2 separate regions of the Homo sapiens genome follow, and region 1 is linked to region 2. The links are contacts of gene promoters, found by promoter capture Hi-C in human tissues and cell types (Jung and others, 2019). All regions are on one chromosome and are shown on one strand. Each heading gives the region's core, a stretch centred on a gene start or on the middle of the fragment in contact. The rest is flanking DNA. Distances are from core to core; before and after follow the strand shown.

What was found. Contacts are between HindIII fragments. The study calls those that stand out against the background at their distance.
Region 1: a contact is called between a fragment that was not itself captured here and the fragment with the promoter of ZBED6 in region 2, in 1 of the 25 tissues and cell types used here (dorsolateral prefrontal cortex).

Annotation. Positions count from the first base shown.
Region 1 is chr1:204,393,452-204,400,129 of GRCh38, forward strand. It overlaps the pseudogene LOC124904489 and a transcript of PPP1R15B not described here. Among named protein-coding and RNA genes, the nearest start is that of PPP1R15B, 15 kb to the right of the region's middle. The HindIII fragment of the contact is 6,586 bases long and covers 1,412-6,678 here.
Region 2 is chr1:203,790,599-203,797,255 of GRCh38, forward strand. It overlaps ZBED6 (zinc finger BED-type containing 6), which reads left to right and starts at 5,025. Exons shown (of 17, transcript NM_001395895.1): 1 at 5,025-6,657. It overlaps ZC3H11A (zinc finger CCCH-type containing 11A), which reads left to right and starts at 5,025. Exons shown (of 18, transcript NM_001376342.1): 1 at 5,025-5,196. RefSeq lists an enhancer at 4,726-5,145. The HindIII fragment of the contact is 6,581 bases long and covers 268-6,657 here.

The DNA.
Region 1 (6,678 bases), core at 3,455-5,954, 600 kb after region 2:
GAACTGAATGAAAATGAAAACACAACATATAAACATATGTGAGAAGCAGCTAATGATGCCTATAGGGAACCTTTTAGCATTAGATATTTATATTAGAAGAAAAGAAAGGTCTTGAATCAGTGGTCTAAGTGCCACCTTAAGAATTAGAAAAAGAACAAATTGAACCCCAAAAAAGGAGAAGAAAGAAAATGCACTACAGATCAGAAATCAATGGACAAAACAAAGCAAAACAAAAAACAATTGGAAAACAATCAATGAAACCAAAAGCTGGTTCTTTAAAAAGATCAATAAAATTAATAAACCTCTAGCCAGACTGATAAGCAAAAAAAGAGAGAGAGAGAAGACGACATAAATTACCAAGATCAGGAATGAAAAAGAAGACATCACTGATCCTAAAGACAAGGCAAGGATTCCTCCTCTGACCACTTCTACTTGCCTTTGTACTTGTTATACTAGCTGGTACAATAAAGCAAGAAAAACATAAATAAAAGGCATACAGATGAGAAAGAAGGAAGCGAAGTCATTTTTATTCTAAGACATGATCATCTATGTAAAATATTCAAAGGTCACAAGACACAGAGTTAATATAGAAAAATAAATTGTATTTCTATATTACTAGCAAAGAAGTGGAAATTGAAATGAAAAAAGTACAATTTATAATAGTATCTCAAAAAGGAAATATTTAGGGATAATGTAACAAAATATGTACAAGATCAATATATTGAATACTACAAAACACTTGAGAGAAACTTAAAAAGACTCAAATAAATGGAGAAATATAGTGTGTTTATGGATCAAAGGACTCAATATTGTTAAGATGTCAACTCTTCCTAAATCAATCCATACAGTCAGTGTAATTCCATTCAATGCCCAACCAGCACCCCCCACCTGCCCCGCATTTTTTTTGGTAAGAATTAATAAGCTAGTCCTGAAATTCAAATAGAAATGCAAAGGGTGACACTCCTATTTGGCAGCCATTTCTCTTAAAGCTCAGTGGTTCTGGACCTGCAGTATCTGCTGAGTTAGGAGGGACAGGAGAGTAGCAGCTAGGTCGGTGGCAAATAGCCCGCAACATTCCCTTTAGTTACAATGAGTTTACCCCTCAATCTCAAATATTTCCTCAGTGGATTAACAGGAGAGCCAGTGATGGTGAAGCTTAAGTGGGAATGGAGTATAAGGGCTACCTGGTATCTGTAGATGGCTATATGAACATGCAGCTTGCAGATACAGAATTCATAAATGAGGCATTGCCTGGACATCTAGGTGAAGTTTTAATAAGGTGTAATAATGTCCTTTATATCAGAGATGTGGAAGAAGAGGAAATGGGGAAATGAGTGAATAGCATCTTTTGAAGAGGATTTTTTAAATATGTATTTCTAGACAATAAAGATTTGTTTTTCAAAAAAAAAAAAAGCAAAGGGCCTGGAGTAACAAAAACCATTTTGAAAAAGAACAAAGTAATTTCAAGACTCACTATAAAGTTACAGTAATCAAGGCAGTGTGGTATTTATGTAAGCACAGAGATACAGATCAATGAAACAGAATACAGGGTCCAGAAATAGATCCATCTACATGGTCAACTGAAATTTGAAAAATATGTCAAAATTACTCAATGGAGAAAGGATAGTCTTTTCAACAATTGAATATCCATGTGCAAAAATATGAAGCTTAACCCTTGCCCTCATAACACATACAAAGGTTAACTCAGAGTGAATGACAAGACTTAAATGTCAGAGCTAAAACTACAAAACTTCTAGAAGTAAACATAAACAAAAATATTCATGACTTTGTTAGGGAAAAACTTCTAAGACCTTTGGAAAAGCATGGACCATAGAAGAAAAAATTGATAAACTGAACTTCTGCAAAATTAAAAAAATTCTGCTCCCCAAATTACATAATTTAAAAAATAAAAAGGCAAGCCACAGACTGGGAGAAATATTTGCAAAATATAAAGGACTTATATCTAGAATATGTTTTTAAAGACACACACACATACACAAATCCATATAAATACTAACAATTTGGCTTAAAAAAAAGGACAAAAGATTTGAACAGACACTTGACTGAAGAAGGTATTTATCAATGCAAATAAACATGTGGAAAGATGCTCCATATCATTAAACACCAAGGAAATGCAAATTTACACCAAAATAAGATGCCACTAGAATAGCTAAACTTAAAAAGACTTACAATATCAAGTGTTGGCAAGGATGTGGAGCAACTGGAGCTCATACGCTGCTGCCAAGTAGTATAGCCACTTTGGAAAACTGTTTGGGAGTTTCTTATATAATTAGATATATACTTACCATATGATCCAGCAGTCTCACTCCTGGATTTATCAAAAAGCAATGAAATCATATGTCCACTCAAACGCTTGTACTCAACAGTTCATAGAAGCTTTATTCATAATAGACACAAATTTATATGTGCTTATATATGTATATGTTTATATGTTTATATATGTAGTCATGTTTATATAACTACACATATTTATCAAAACTCATTGAATTCATACTTAAACAAGCCAACTGTTTATTATCTAGTAAATGAACAAATAGTGGTATAATTATACAATGAAATACTACTCAGCCATGAAAAGGAATGGACTACTGATACACTCAACAGAAGGAATGGACTGCAGAGACACTCAACAGCACAGATGAATCTCAAAAGCATTACAGTAAAGAAGCCCACCACAGAAGGGTCCATGCTGTACATCCGATACCATTTTTCTGAAATTCTAGAAGAGCTAAAAGTGTTGAAAGCAGATCAAAGGCCAGACGTGGTGGCTCACACCTGCAATCCCAGCATGTTGGGAGGCCAAAACAGGCAGATCTCTTGAGCCCAGAAGTTCAAGACTAGCCTGGGCAACATGCCAAAACCTTATCTCTACTAAAAATACAAAAAAAAAAAAAAAAGCAAAAACAAAAACAAAAAAAAAAAAACAAAAAACCAGCTGGGTGTGGTCGCACACAGCTGTAGTCCCAGCTACTCAGGAGGCTGAGGTGGGAGGATCACCTGAACCCAGGGAGATAAGGCTGCAGTGAGCCGTGATCACACCACTACACTCCAGCCTGGGTGACAGTAAGACCCTGTCTGTCAAAAAAAAAAAAAAAGACAAAGAAAAGAAAAGCAATGGCTGCCAAAAGCTGGAGGTTGGGAAGGGGACCGAATACAAAAGAACATAAGGGAACTTTCTGGGTGATGGAAATGATCCATATTTTGATAGTGGTGGTGTTTATATGACTACACGTGTTTATCAAAACTCATTGAATTCATACTTAAAATGAGTGAAACTTATTGTAAATTATACTTTAATAAGTTAATAAAAAACAAGAAGTGGGTTGGGGAGACGTTGCTCAAAGGATACAAACTTTCAGTGAGGAGGAATAAGTTCAAGAGATCTACTGTACGACATGGTGACCATAGTCAATAACAATGTATTATATTCTTGCAAATTGGCCAGGTGAGGTGGCTCACACCTGTAATCTCAACACTTTGGGAGGCAGGAGGAACACTTAAGCCTAGGACTTCAAGACCAGCCTGGGCAATATAGGGAGATCTCGCCCCTACAGATAACTTAAAAATTAGCCTGTTGTGGTGGTGTGAGCCTGTGGTCCCAGCTACTCGGGAAACTGAGGCAAGAGGATTGCCTGAGCCCAGGAGGTTGAGGCTGAAGAAAGCCATGATCATGCCACTGCACTCCAGCTTGGCAACAGAGCAAGGTTCTGTCTCAAAATAAATAAATACATAAATAAATAATAAAATAAAATAAAATAAATAAATAAAAAGCCCAGGCGTGATGGCTCACGCCTGTAATCCCAGCACTTTGGAAGGCCAAGGCAGGCAGATCACCTGAGCTCAGGAGTACGAGACCACCCTGGGCAACATGGGGTGAAACCTGTCTCTACTAAAATACAAAAAATTAGCCGGGTGTGGTGGCACGCGCCTGTAGTCCCAGCTACTTGGGAGGCTGAGACATGAGAATTGCTTGAGCCCAGGACGCGGAGGTTACAGTGAGGCGAAATTGCACCACTGCACTCCAGCTTGTCTCAAATAAATAAATAAATAGAAAAAGGAAATTGCTAAGAGTAGATTTTAAGGGTTCTTACCACAAAAAAAATGCTAAGTATGTGAGGTAATACATGTTAATTAGCTTGACTTACCATTCCACAATGTACACATATTTCAAAACATCATGTTGTAGACAGTAAACATATACAATTTTTGTCAATTTAAAAAACAGAAAAGTTTAAAAAACAATGTCCTCAACCATCTTAGAAAACTGGATATGAATGGTATCCTGCATAATGAAGTGCCTTTCATAACGATGACAATGTTTCAGCGAACCTTAGGCTACCACTGGAAAGAGTAGTCATGACGACCTTACATCAACTGATTTAAAACTTTGGGTTTCAGGTCATCACTAATAATGCTAGCTTTTCAAAAAAAAAAAAATCAAATACTACAAATACAAAATAATGTAAACATTGAAGATAGACCTTTTCACATACAAAATTGCTTCTTTGAAATGAATTCATAAATTACTTGTTATGTCGGGAGGGAGCCTGTGTGTTGGAAAAAAGAGGCTATGGAAATTACCACTTGAGTTAAAGAAAAGTGTATCATGTGTCTAAAATACTCTGGTCACTGCGCAGACCCTTCCACCACAGAGGAAGAAAGGAAAGAGCAAATCACAATTAAAATTCAATGTGACTTGAACAGTGATAAAAAAGTATACAAGGGCCAAGTGAGGTGGCTCATGCCTGTAATCGCGACACTTTGGGAGCCCCAGGCAGTAGGATCTCTTGAAGCCAGGAGTTTGAGACCAGCCTAGGCAATATAATTAGACCCCATCTCTACACACAAAAATAATAAAATTAGCCAGGCAATGTGGTGCATGCCTGTGGTCCTAGCTACTTGGGAGGCTGAGGTGGGAGGATTGTTTAAGCCCAAAAGTTGGAGGCTGCAGTGAGCTATGACCGTGCCACTGTACTCCAGCCTAGGCCTGGGCGACAGCAAGACTCAAAAAAAAAATCAGTTCCTTTGTTTGTGTTCAAATACAAATCTTGGTTCTCCTATAAGAAAGAGCCCCTACTTCTGGGTAATTACCACAAAAAGGTGGAGTCACACTGGGCCAGGCAGGCCTGGAATGGGCAGGGCAGGGCAGTTTTCCAGCTTGTTTACACATTGAGGGACCCACCTCCAGGGGAGCAATAGCAACCAGATCTGTAATAACAGGTGTCCATCAGGCACTCCCAGATGGAAGATAACGCCATCTGGTGGAGACAACAGAGCATCACTAGAAACCCAAAGCCAATCTTCTGCCAAAGAGCTAAAACCCCTGGTGTGGTGGCAAGAATACTCTGGTACTCCAATGCAGCCTATTAATTCTGGGAAAGGAGGGTCTCAGTTGATTTGCTCGCATATTAAATTCATAAATTAACAATGTGTCTTATATTAATAATGACACTAGAATTAATGGATGTGGTATACCTAGCCAAATTGAAATTTGTAATTACTTTCTACAAATTTAGTTAAAGCTTACGGTAGCTTTTCTCTAAGGACATTTAAATTCTGTGATTCTACATCATCTGATGATTGTGGCACACTTGTTTCTGGTCAGACAAGGCTGTGTGGATGAAACTTCAATAAAGCTGATAAGAGAGGTGACTTTGGGAAAGCTATTAACTTGGCCAGGCCCAGTGGCTCACACATGTAATCCCAGCACTTTGGGAGGCCAAGGCAGGAGGACTGCTTGAGGCCAGGAGTTGCTATATGGGCAACATAGCCAGACCCCATCTCTATTTATATATATTAAAAAAAAGAGTCCAGGCGTGGTGGCTCACGCCTATAATCCCAGCATTTTGGGAGGCCAAGGCAGGCAGCTCATGAGCCCAAGAGTTCGAGACCAGCCTGGGCAACATGGTGAAACCCCATCTCTACAAAAAAATTAAAGTTAGCTGGGTGTGATGGCATCTGCCTGTAGTCCCAGCTACTTAGGAGGCTAAGGCAGGAGAATCGCTGGAGCCTGGGAGGCGGAGGTTCAGCACCAAGATTGCACCATTGCACTCCAGTCTGGGTGATGGGAGTGGAACCCTGTCTCAAAAAAAAAAAAAAAAGTTGTTATTCAACAAATATTTATTGACTATAGCATACCAGACACAGTTCTAGGCTCTGGACTCATAAACGACAAGATCCCTGTTCTCATGGAGTTTACAGACTAGTGAGGGTGGTGGTAGATGAGAAACAAGTAAAAATGTTAACAAGATGAGGGCAGAGTGAACATAATTTTAAAAGGTACTGTGAGAGAAAAAGGAGGGGTTGGGGGATAGAGTGATCAGAGGGCTCTTTGAGGTGATTATTTGAGATCCAAAGAGGAACTAGTCTTTCATGATAAAATGCGGTCTTAAAAACACCCACTTCAGAACATATATCCAGATAAGTCTTTTTCAAAACCCCTGGGACTCCTCTGGTTTTTGCCTTCAGAGCCCATTAAGAAAAGGAGGTATGGCTGGACCTGACGACTCATGCCTGTAATCCCAGCACTTTGGGAGGCCAAGGTGGGCTACTTGCTTGAGTTCAGTAGTTTGAGACCAGCCCGGGCAACATAGTGAGACCCTGTCTCTACAAAAAATAGGTGAGCAAAGTGGTGCACACCTATGGTCCCAGCTACTC
Region 2 (6,657 bases), core at 3,775-6,274:
TATGGCATCAGAGGCTAGTCTGTGGAAAATTCTTCACACGTCTAAAATTTTTTTTTTTTTTGAGATGGAGTCTCGCTCTGTCGCCCAGGCTGCAGTGCAGTGGCGCAACTTGGGCTTACCGCAACCTCTGCCTCCTGGGTTCAAGCAACCTCTGCCTCCTGGGTTCGAGTGATTCTCCTGCCTCAGCCTCCCAAGTAGCTGGGACTACAGATGCATGCCACCACACCTGGCTGATTTTTGTATTTTTAGTAGAGAGGGGGTTTCACCATGTTGGCCAGGCTGGTCTTGAACTCCTGATCTCAGGTGATCCACCTGCTTTGGCCTCCCAAAGTGCTGGGAATACAGGTGTGAGCCACTGCACCTGGCCACACATCTAAAATTTTATTTTTTTTTTATTTTTTTTTTTCAGATGGAGTCTTGCTCTGTTGCTCAGGCTGGAGTGCAGTGGCATGATCTTGGCTCACTGCAACCTCTGCCTCCCGGGTTCCAGCGATTCTCCTGCCTCAGCCTCCTAGGTAGCTGGGATTACAGGCGCATGCCACTACGCCCGGCTAATTTTTGTATTTTTAGTAGAGACGGGGTTTCACCATGTTTGGCAGGCTGGCCTTGAACTCCTGATCAGGTGATCTGCCCGCCTCGGCCTCCCAAAGTGCTGGGATTACAGGCATGAGTCGCTGTGCCTGGCCATATCTAAAATTTTAAATGGACGAGTCAGTTATCACTAACAGCTGGCATGGTAGCAAGCCTCCAAGAAAGACCCCAATGATCCCTGGCTCCTGTTACCATGCCCTTGCTTAGTCCCCTCCCACATAATGCCAGTGTTAATCTGTGTGATCAATAGAATACAGAAGAAATGGTGGTATGTAATGCCCAAGGCTAGGTCATAAAAGGCATTGCAGCTTATAGTGTCTATCTTTACTATTTCTCTCGTCATTCACTCTGGGAGAAGCTTGTTGCCTATATCCTGAGCAGCCCTACGGAGAGGCCCTCAGAGTGAGAAACTGAGGTCTCATCTCCTGTTAACAGCTATATGAGTTGACTTGGAAATGTATCTTCTAGCCCCAGTCAAGCCTTCAGATGACTGCAGTCCTGGCCAACTTGATTGCAAACTCATTAGAGACTCTGAGTCAGAACCATCCAGCCAAACTGCTTCTGAATTCCTGACCCACAGACACGTGAAATAACAAATGTTTGTTCCTTAAGCCACTACATTTTTGGGTGATTTTTTACATAGCAATAAATAATAGATTTAGTAAAAATGGTAGCTCTTGCCTGGCCAAGAGGGTATTAAATAATTCAATAAAGTCTTAGTGCTTATATATATCTAAGAAACTTGATAGAAGCTGTACCAAATTTGACAATAATCATACATATATATTTTTTTTTCTTTCTTTTTTTTTTTTTTGACTGAGTCTCACTCTGTCGCCCAGGCTGAAGTGCAGTGGTACACAATCTCAGCTCACTGTAATCTCCACCTCCCGGGTTCAAGGGATTCTGCTGCCTCAGCCTCCCAAATAGCTGGGATTACAGGTGCACGCCACAACATCCAGCTAATTTTTGTATTTTTAGTAGACATGGGGTTTTACCATGTTGCCCAGGCTGGTCTTGAATTCCTGGGCTCAAGTGATCCACTGGCCTGGGCCTCCCATAGTGCTGGGATTACTGGCATGAGGCACTGTGCCCAGCCACAGTTTTTTTTTTTTTTTTAATGTGTAATTTGTTGTGATTTCCTTTTCTAGTCTAAATAAAGATTCTCTTGAACCTAATTTTGTCTCAATAATTTTGCATTTTTTCCCCAAACTTTTGCTCTCAAAGCAAAAACACACTGAACGTCCCAAAAGGTTTTGTCATTCACTGAAGAGGTCTAGATATGTTTAAAATCCATTTAGAATTTGAAGGGCAGTATGAATAGGGGGAATCTGGCATTGTGTCCTTGGTTTAGATACTTCACCCCCACTTATAACATACAAAGGGCAAGCCCAGCCCCACCCCTGAGAATTCTGTGTGTATATATGGGGGGGTGGGGAAGGTTGGCATGTGCACTCTCCTGACTCTTAGAGGGTTTCCCAACTAGTTTTCTCTCTCTGCAACAGCCTTAGGCTTTTTCTCCTGCCTTTTTTTTTTTTTTTTTCTGTGAGACAGGTTCTCTCTCTGTTGCCCAGGTTGGAGTGCAGTGGTGCAATCTTGGCTCACTGCAAACTCTGCCTCCTGGGTTCAGGTGCTTCCCTGCCTCAGACTCCTGAGTAGCTGGGATTACAGGCGGGTGCCACCACACCCGGCTAATTTTGTATTTTTAGTAGAGACAGGCTTTCGCCACGTTGGCCAGGCTGGTCTTCACCTCCTGACCTCTAGTGATCTGCTGGCCTGGGCCTCCCAAAGTGCTGGGATTACAGGCGTGAGCCCCTGCCCAGCTTGCCCTCTTCAATGTCCTTATTACCCTATTATTTTTTCTTTCCCCCCCTTGAGAGATACTAATGGAAAATGAAACATGATTGTTTCCATCAATAAGGGACTGGTGAAATAAATTGTAAAAAGAGGCTTACAGAGAGCGGGATGGGAGCTATTAAAAAGAATGTAGGCCGACGTGGGCAGATTACCTGAGGTTAGGAGTTCCAGACCAGCCTGGCCAACATGGAGAAACCCCGTCTCTACTAAAAATACAAAATTAGCCTGGCGTGGTGGTGCATTCCTGTAATCCCAGCTACTCAGGAGGCTGAGGCAGAAGAATAGCTTGAACCCGGAAGGCGGAGGTTGCATTGAGCCGAGATTGTGCCATTGCACTCCAGCTTGGGAAACAAGAGTGAAACTCTGTCTCAAAAAAAAAAAAAAAAAAAAGAATATGGTAGGCCTCTAAGTGCTGATGACCATTAAAAGATATTCAAGATATATTGTAAAGTGAAAAAAGCAAATTGCAAAACGGTATGTATAGTTTTAGCCTGTTCATATTTTCATTCATTCTAAGATGTACATCCTTTCCTAGCCTGTCACCTAGGCTGGAGTGCAATGGCGTGATCTTGGCTCACTGCAACCTCCACCTCCCAGGATCAAGCAATTCTCTTGCCTCAGCCTCCAAGTAGCTGGGATTACAGATGCGTGCCACTGTGCTGGGCTAATTTTTGTATTTTTAGTAGAGGCAGGATTTCACCATGTTGGCCAGGCTAGTCTCGAACTCCTGACCTTGTGGTTCGCCCGCCACAACCTCCCAAAGTGCTGGGATTAGAGGTGTGAGCCACCCTGCCCGGCCGGCCTGTCAGTTTAATTGGCAGTTGTTGGTTTTTTTCTTCCACTTAGAGGCTTGTAAAATAAAAGTGTATCTTACAATCAATGATACTTTAGGTTTACTGAAATATAACTATAAACTCTATATAGCACACTAGTCAGGCCAGGACTGCATCTTGGAGAGTCCTAGGTTGGAAAACCCTTAAGCTATGTGGAGAGCCCTCTGGTAAATTTTAAAAACCCTAGGTGTCGTGGCACAGACAGAAATTGGTTACCAGTAAGAGTCACACAGACCAAAAAAATGAAGACCAAAACAAAAGAAAAAGAAAAAGAAAGAAAAAAAGAAATTGGCTACCAGGAACTTGCTTATTAGGTCTGTTGACATGGCAATGCCAGAGCACTGTCACGTAAGGCAGAGATTGGAGCTAAGATTCTAAAGTTGTGGTTCTTACTTTGAAAGGAGATAAAAGCCCAGATATGAGGAGGCTCAGGACCCCTCTGCTCTGATAAATTCCTAGTCTTGGGCTGCCTGGGACTCGCACATCACCAACCCGGCAGCTGGAAGAACAAGCACACGAGGAAATAAAAGGTGCCTGAAGTCCCATCTGCTTTATCATCAAGTGTTTCCTTTCTTAGTAGCACAACTATATCCTTTACCCAAGTTAGGTAAAATGTTGCCACCTAATTAGAGTTCTGCTGAGCCACTACCCCAGGGGGACCTTGGGCTCCTATTATATGTGTAATATATTTAAGTATATTTTCAGTGTAAAAGCCAGAAAGGATATATGGTAAGTTAATGAGAGCTATTTCTCAAGAATGAGATTAATAGAGATTTTAACTTTCTACTCTCTATATTTCTGTATTGTTTCTAAAAAAACTTACGTGTATTAAGTTTTTTACTTTTTTTTTTTTTTTTTTTTTTTGAGATGGAGTCTTACTCTGTCGCCAGGTTGGAGTGCAGTGGTGCGATGTCAGCTCAATGCAACCTCTGCCTCCCAGATTCAAGCGATTCTCCTGCCTCAGCCTCTCGAGTAGTTGGGACTACAGGCGCGTGCCACCACGCCTAGCTAATTTTTGTATTTTTGGTAAAGATGAGGTTTCACCATGTTGACCAGGATGGTCTCGATCTCTTGACCTTGTGATCCGCCTGCCGAGGCCTCCCAAAGTGCTGGAATTACAGTCGTGAGCCACCGCACCGGCCACGTGTATTACTTTTATAACCGGGGGAAAAAGTAAAAACATTCAAAAGGGAAAATAAGGGACAATGTTAATAATGAAGCAGGGATGAGACTGCTGATTGCGACCTCCAACTAACTCTCCTGAATTTTGTCACGAGCATGAATTACTTTTCCAATACACAAATTTGCTTTAAGAAATCAAAGAAACACCCCCCCAAAGCCCAATCTCACTTCTTCAAGTAAAAAATAAACTAACAAATCATTCTACATTGCATGCTTAGGAAAAGTACAGTTTATTTCTAAATTAAATGTATACATGGTTTGGGAGATTTACTCATTAAGCAAACACTTTGGTAAGAATAAATTGAGCGCTTACTGAATGGCAGTCTCAGTTCCTGCGGCCCTCCCGCTTATTACCTCATTTGATTTAAAAACAAAAACAAAACGTTATGAAAGCCGGCTTCGAGGCATTCCTCTGAAGGGAAGGGACTCCCCGACCCAGCGCCTCCCCCGTCACGTGACCCTGTGACCCGGAGCAGCCATCTTAGGCATCGCCTCATAGAGGAACTACATCTTCCAGAATCCTCGCGCCCTGCGTCGTGCTGGCACTTTTACCGGCCGGGCCTTAGAGCGGAGCCTGTAGCCAGGCGCCATCTTTGACGCTGGCAGTCTTGGTTTTCTGCTAGTGCTGCTGCTGCTGGGAGGACGACGGACGGCAGCGGCCAAGCAAGAAGAAAGACGTGGCAGCAAGCGGGAGTCGGGGATAGTGTCATCGGTTCGGTAAAGTTTCTGTTCTCTGGTAACTAGACCCGTTTTTTTGATTCCCGGGTGGCTTGGGGCCGGGGAGGTGGGGGAGAGGGCGAGGGGAGTGGCAGCGGCCTCCCCTCGCCCCTGGGTCGCGGCCTATCCCGGGAAGTCAGAGCGGATCCTTCAGCTTCGCCGTAACGACCCCTCCCCCCCACCTCCCGGTCGCGGCCCTCGCCGGGGCTGGCTGGGAGCCCCAGGCTCCCGCTCACTTTTCCCATCCTCCCCACCCCCACCCCGTTCACCCCACCCCCACGGCGCCTGCTCCTTTCCCAGCCAACCTTCCTCCCCTCCCCCACATCCGGTGTTCGCTAATCTCGAGGAGCCCGGAGCAGCCCCGAAAACCGACTGTTCCCCCGAATCCCGAAGAGAGAACTGACACTAGATTGCTTTCTTCGGGGCAACAGTTTCTCTAGTTGAGCGGACCCTCACTGCCTAAATCAATCAGACTGAGTGCCGGGCGCTGAATTTACCTACTCTCATTCCTCTCCAGGGTCCCGGTACTTTGGAGCTTGTCTCAAACTCCACATACAGAAAGCCACCGACCTTATTCCGGTATCCTACACCCATTCCCCACTCTCATTACACTCCCACCCCTGGCCCTCAGCGTCGGAGTCAAGAGCAACAGGGACACTTCCGTTCTCCTTGTAGGACTGGTGAAACCGTAATGAAGAACACCCCTAAACTCCCATAATCGGTGCGGATTCCTATGGGGAAGGCCTATATTGTTGACATCTTCCAGGCCTTGGTTCTGGACCTTGAGAAAGAGGCTGTGGAACTAGAGATAGCGATGCTTTTTAGGGTAAATGTATGTAGGTATTGGGGGAAGGGGAGGGATCAATCGAAAAATGGAAGTGGTTTAAAGTTCATATTTCACTTTTTGCTATCTCTATAGCGTACAACTTGTGAGTTACTTACAGGCTGTAAAAGCTTCTCAAGTCTAAAAATATCTGAAAACTAAACTTGAATTAACTCTTAATACAAACAGTACTTTGAAAATGCAGCATTTAACCTTGTTTTAAAATTTTTTTCTCAAAGCATTTTTTTCCAGCCACTCACATTTTAAAAGGTTGTATTACTTTTAGTTAGAACTGAAAGGGCTCAACTAGCATTTGCTGTGACCAGTATGCGGAGTCTGTGTTGGCTTTCCAGAATTGACTTTTTGGGTTGTATTGGCAAATCACAGTCCTAAATGATGAATGTTGAATGATGCACTATGTTTTTGTTTAAATGAGATTTCCTGAAAATAGTTAATTTCAGAATTAAGGGAAATTGATGTCGCTATCATGAGGCATCATAAAAATATGTATTTTACAAGGTGAAGGCATTTCAAGTAGATATAGTTCTTGATGAAGCAGGAAGAACATGGATCTGGGATTTGGAAGACCTGGCTTCTAGCTGCTACTAACCAACTCTGTGACTCTGGGAAAGGGGGACTCAGTTCTTACTTCTGTAA